Linked DNA regions of Homo sapiens: region 1 is linked to region 2. The links are contacts of gene promoters, found by promoter capture Hi-C in blood cells and fetal thymus (Javierre and others, 2016). All regions are on one chromosome and are shown on one strand. The core of a region is centred on a gene start or on the middle of the fragment in contact, and the rest is flanking DNA. Distances in the headings are between cores, read along the strand shown. Region 1 overlaps FGF8 (fibroblast growth factor 8). Region 2 holds the start of LBX1 (ladybird homeobox 1).

The links. Contacts are between HindIII fragments. The CHiCAGO score rates a contact against its expected background, and 5 or more counts as called.
Region 1: a fragment that was not itself captured here is called in contact with the fragment with the promoter of LBX1 in region 2 in 2 of 17 cell types (endothelial precursors and erythroblasts); the score reaches 7.6 in endothelial precursors.

The regions. Positions count from the first base shown.
Region 1 is chr10:101,768,647-101,771,346 of GRCh38, reverse strand. FGF8 (fibroblast growth factor 8) reads left to right here. Exons shown (of 6, transcript NM_033163.5): 6 at 728-1,238. The coding sequence ends at 1,018. LOC105378457 (a long non-coding RNA gene) reads right to left here. Exons shown (of 3, transcript XR_946253.3): 2 at 722-790. Among named protein-coding and RNA genes, the nearest start is that of FGF8, 6.1 kb to the left of the region's middle. RefSeq lists an enhancer at 437-1,214. The HindIII fragment of the contact is 7,236 bases long and covers 1-2,700 here.
Region 2 is chr10:101,228,111-101,230,810 of GRCh38, reverse strand. LBX1 (ladybird homeobox 1) reads left to right here and starts at 1,348. Exons shown (of 2, transcript NM_006562.5): 1 at 1,348-2,320. The coding sequence starts at 1,996. It overlaps LBX1-AS1 (LBX1 antisense RNA 1), which reads right to left and starts at 1,217. Exons shown (of 3, transcript NR_029380.1): 1 at 997-1,217. The HindIII fragment of the contact is 27,362 bases long and covers 1-2,700 here.

The sequences.
Region 1 (2,700 bases), core at 158-2,657, 540 kb before region 2:
GGCCATCTTGGGGTTACCTCACGATTGGGTGCAGGAGTGAGGGAGAAGGAAGCTGTTTGAGAGATGAAAACTATAAAAGGCGAAGGAGGAAGAATGAAGGCTAGGGAAGGGGCTGGGGGGTGGTGGTTGGTAAATTCCATATATCTTTTTAACAAATCGCCAAATTGCTTTGCTATTATGTCCAATTACATGGTACCAGCATTTGGAATGTTCAGTAAGCCGCAGGCCCAGCCCCTCGGCCGAGCTCTGAAATGGCTCCATTAGTCACGGCTCCTCTCCAGCCTCGAGCTCCCCACTTCCTGGGCTTCTGGGGCTGGGGTCTTAGCATCTTCTCCCAGGCCTCCCCTCCCCCATAGGGTGGCTGCCCTGGGGCCAGGGAACCGAAGTCCTGGGGGGGTGAGAGGGGCAGGTGGGGAGACGGGTGGCCAGACTGGTGGGCAGGAGGCCAGAGCAGGCCAGGCTCTGGGCCCCTCTCTCTGTCTTTCTGCGTTGGGGCCCAGCCCCTCCGTAGACAACCATGTGTCACTGCTGCCTGGGAGGACAGGAAGTTGCCGGGTGGGCTGCGAGTTGTGAGGGATTAGAGAGCGGGTGCCCAGGCAGGGGGTGGGGCTGCGGCTCCTGCCCACCTCGCCATCTGCTGGGGTGCCCACCTGCTGTCTGGGGCCGCTCGCCCTCTGCCTCTGCTGGGGGGGCTCTGTAACGTGGTGTCTGGCTCCCCTACCTGCAGAGCAACGGCAAAGGCAAGGACTGCGTCTTCACGGAGATTGTGCTGGAGAACAACTACACAGCGCTGCAGAATGCCAAGTACGAGGGCTGGTACATGGCCTTCACCCGCAAGGGCCGGCCCCGCAAGGGCTCCAAGACGCGGCAGCACCAGCGTGAGGTCCACTTCATGAAGCGGCTGCCCCGGGGCCACCACACCACCGAGCAGAGCCTGCGCTTCGAGTTCCTCAACTACCCGCCCTTCACGCGCAGCCTGCGCGGCAGCCAGAGGACTTGGGCCCCCGAGCCCCGATAGGTGCTGCCTGGCCCTCCCCACAATGCCAGACCGCAGAGAGGCTCATCCTGTAGGGCACCCAAAACTCAAGCAAGATGAGCTGTGCGCTGCTCTGCAGGCTGGGGAGGTGCTGGGGGAGCCCTGGGTTCCGGTTGTTGATATTGTTTGCTGTTGGGTTTTTGCTGTTTTTTTTTTTTTTTTTTTTTTTAAAACAAAAGAGAGGCTCTATTTTTGTATTCCACTTGGCTGTGGTGTCTGTCTTCTTAACTCTCAGAAAGCTCCATTAGTGGCCTAGACTGGGATTCCGGCTGGGGGTTTGCGGGGGTGGGGGGCTTTCTCTAGCCTGTGCTGCTGAGGCCCCAGTACCTCCAGGGCCAGTTGGCTGGGCAGCCAGGGACTCCACTGCACCCCCAGGTGGGGCAGGGAGGAAAGGACTGTGACATAGGGCAGTCCTCTTAGAAGTGGGTATCAGACTGGTGGCTATTAAATGATTGAAATATTTATTTAACTTGCATATTAAAAATGTGTGCTGGAGAGTGAGTCCTGCCGGGGTCAGCCCCTCCCTCCAACCTTGCCCCAGCTGGTGGGCGGCTGGGAGACGCAGATGACCAGGTGCCAGCTCTGACCACAGCCTCCCTCCAGCCTAAAGACACCTGCCTGTCAACCATCCCCATCACTGTCACTTGAGGGGTTTTCCTGCAAGGACAGAAGCAGGGAAAGGGGCAAGAAGAGGCTCTTAGCTAGTCCTTGGAGCTCTCAGATGTGTACCTCCTAGCACTTTACAGAGGTCATTGCTAACACTTCCCCAGGCCACCTCAGGGCCAGAAATAATGGATGTGCTAGGGCTAGAGCTGTAATCATGGATTTAATCCTCTTAAAAAGTGCTTCTCTGAGTGCCTAGGTCCATGTGGGAGACAGGTTGGAGATTCCAGAACTTGCTCTTTCTGAGACTCAGGCTCCAGAAAATGAAAGAAAAGAGCAGCTGCCAGGGTCCAAGGTGGGGGCATATTGGAGGGGGACCACCAAGACTGGTGTTGACAATGGTGATGTGGGACAAGTGTTAACCTTGGGTGATATGGTGAGATAGCTGTGGGCAGAAAGCACTGAGCTGAGGTGCGGTGAGGAGCCTGGGGAACTGTCTTCCAGGAAGAGGCTGCCCACCTCGGAGGATGGGCCTGGCGGGAGAGGAGCTGGGCACCGGATGGCACCAGAAGGGAAGCTCATAGGCCTAGCGCAGAACTAAAGGCAGTCATAGCCTTGGGGAGAAGCAGGAGGCCGTATGTGGAGGGAGGGAGGGCTGCTGTGGGAGTGGTGGAGCAGGTCATGGTGTGGGCAGAGAAGGGAATGGGCAAGGGTGCAGGTGTGTGTTTGCGTGTGGACTGGTGAGACTGGTGTCCTGCCACACCGAGGGAGAGCCCAGGCCCCACGGCAGTTTCCTGAGTGCAGAGCTGGCCCAGGCTTCATCGCTGAGGCCTCCCATTAGGGCTGCTCCTGCTTCCTTCCTTGTGGATGCCCTGGGCTGGTCCCACAGCCCAGCTACTGAGCCAGTCTAGAAACCTCGCTCCTCTAGGACTCTGTCCATTGGCATCTCCTGGGGTAGGGAGCAACCCAAGGCTTCCTCCCACAGTTTCAGGCCCAAGTCCCAGGTTTAGCCCACCCCGGCAGATCAGGAATTTCGAGGCTTAGTGGGAAGCCCGGCAGTA
Region 2 (2,700 bases), core at 99-2,598:
CCCCTCTAGGTCCTCCCCTCCTTTCTCCAAGGGCAGAAATGGAAAATTAGTAAGGAGGCCAGTGGCCCCACATAAACAGAATGGGGTAGCAAGACAGGAAGGCCTGAGGGCACAGCCCTGCTGGAATGCCTCAGGGAAATGAAAGAAATAGCTGAGTTCAAACACACCTATATACCCACAGGTTCACACACATTTACACAAATATACGCATGGAGAAACACACACAAACACACATTCAAAAACACAAACACCTTCAAGTAACAATGCACACAACATGTTCTCCCGATATTCACAGATCCCGGGCCCTAAGGTCTTTAGCCCCAGCCTAACTGGAAGCCTGGCCTCCCTGCGAGTTCCTGAGAGCAAAGCCCCAGCCGCGGCCTGGCTCCCGCCGGGCCCCCGCCCCGCATCCGGAACAGCTGGAGTCGGCCTGGCCATGCACTCAAGCCGGGCGCTGGGCTAGGCGGGGCCGGCAGCGGGGCCCCGGCCGGGGCCCGGGCGGAGCGCAGCAGGGAGGCACGGAGCCGGCCCCGTTAGCCCCGGCACCTGGCCTGGCTACTCTTCAGACGCCCATCATCAGGCCGTTGGTGGCCCCAGCCAGCCTGGGGAGCGGCTGCCGGAGGAAAGTGAGCAAGATTGCCGGAGGAGGTAGGGCGGCCGCTTCGGAATCAGGCCGGGGAGAGGCGTCCAGAGCCGCCAACAATTCCCTCCTCCGCCTCTCCGCGTGGAGAAGGCTGAGCTCTCCGACTAGCCCCCTCCCCCAACCCCTGGGGTCCTCCACCCCCTTCCCGCGTCGCCCACCCAAGGCTGCGCAGCCGGCTCTGACCTCCTGCGGGCCAGCGCAGGAGGGCTTCAGATTCCCTCTCCCCAGGCGCGTCGCCCAGGCAGTGGGGTGAGGGGCAAGAGGGTCAGAGGTAGAGGCGCTGGGCTCTTGATCTCAGCTCCGCAAAGTCCACTCTGGGTGGCAGCGGGGCCCACCCGGGCTCCTGGTCCTACCTGGCCCGAGCGGCGGCCGCGTCCCTCCCGGGCTGGGGTTCCCACCACTCTTTCGGGCTCCACATCCCGGGTCGGAGAGACCGAGACCTTCGGGCCGGTGCGGTCATTGCAGCTAGGCCGGCGGGAGGCGGGTGCGCCAGGAGCGCGGCTCGCAGTTTGGGGTGGGGGCGGTGGCTTTTCAGTCGCCCGAGGTTCGGGTGCAATAAAGGAGCAGCTAATGTAATTTACAAACAGCTCGGGCCGAACGCAGCGCAGCGCCCGGACTGACAGGCGCATTAGGCAGGCTAATTCCAGCCGGCTCCTCCTACCCCCGGCCCGCTAATTAATGAGCTTCCCAACTTACAGCCGCCTGCATTGGACAGACAGAGAGTGAAAGAGAGGGCGAGGGAGAGGGAGAGAAGGAGAGAGAAGGGGGGAGCAGAGAAGAGAGAAGAGAGAGGGAGGGAGGGAGAGCGAGAACAGGAGGAGAGAACAGAGGCAAAGAAGAGAGGAAAAAGGGAGAAAGGAGAGAGAAAGAGAAAGAAGTGCCGCTGCAGATAATTGATTACACCGCGATCAAGGCTAACTTGTTAGCAATAGTCAATTGCCCCGTCTCTCCGCCTCCCTCGCAGTCCGGGATCGGCGCCCTCGCCTCGGCTCTTCCAACTGCGGCCGCCAGGACCCGGGGCCAGGAGCCACTGCCGAGCCACCTGACACCTTTAAATAGCACCGGGGTTGGCGAAACTGGAGCCCCGCGCAGCGCGCCCCGGCTCCGGCCCCGGATTGCTGGAAGCCCCAGCAGCAGCGGCGCCCGCGTCAGCGCCCTCTTCCCGGGGCCCCGCGCTGTTCTCCCCTCCTCAGCCGCCGCGCTAATCGGCCCCGCGCCCGGCCCGCGCCCTGCCCAGTGCGGCCTCCTTTCCACCCGCCGCTGCCTGCCCGCGCCGTCCGGCGCCCGAGCTGCCCGCGGGCTGGGTCCCCGCGGCCCGAGCCGCCCCGGCCGGGACCCCGAACAAGGCCGAGATGACTTCCAAGGAGGACGGCAAGGCGGCGCCGGGGGAGGAGCGGCGGCGCAGCCCGCTGGACCACCTGCCTCCGCCTGCCAACTCCAACAAGCCACTGACGCCGTTCAGCATCGAGGACATCCTCAACAAGCCGTCTGTGCGGAGAAGTTACTCGCTGTGCGGGGCGGCGCACCTGCTGGCCGCCGCGGACAAGCACGCGCAGGGCGGCTTGCCCCTGGCGGGCCGCGCGCTGCTCTCGCAGACCTCGCCGCTGTGCGCGCTGGAGGAGCTCGCCAGCAAGACGTTTAAGGGGCTGGAGGTCAGCGTTCTGCAGGCAGCCGAAGGTAGGCGCAGCTGCTGGGTTCCCCTGCACCCAGCGCCTCGCGCCCTGTGCCCTGCGCGCTTCGTCCCCTATGCCTCTGCTCGCCTCTGCCCTCTCCGGCCGCCAGGGCCTTCCAGCCTGAGCAGCTGCTTATGGGAGTGAAGATATGTGGGACGGGACCCAATCCTTATTTCCCAGGGACCTCTGGGTAGGCCAGAGCTGGGGGGTGGCAGGAGAAGGGTGGCCAAGCTCTTTCCGCAGTCTGCTTGCTTTGCCGGGCTCCCTTGCGTTCCCAGTGTCCTGGGCGCTCTTAGCCCGGCTACTCGGCGTGGGGAATCGAGAGTCTTTTGCCGGGGACCTTATGGGTAGGGTAGAGTTGAAGTGATTGGGAAGGGATGGAGA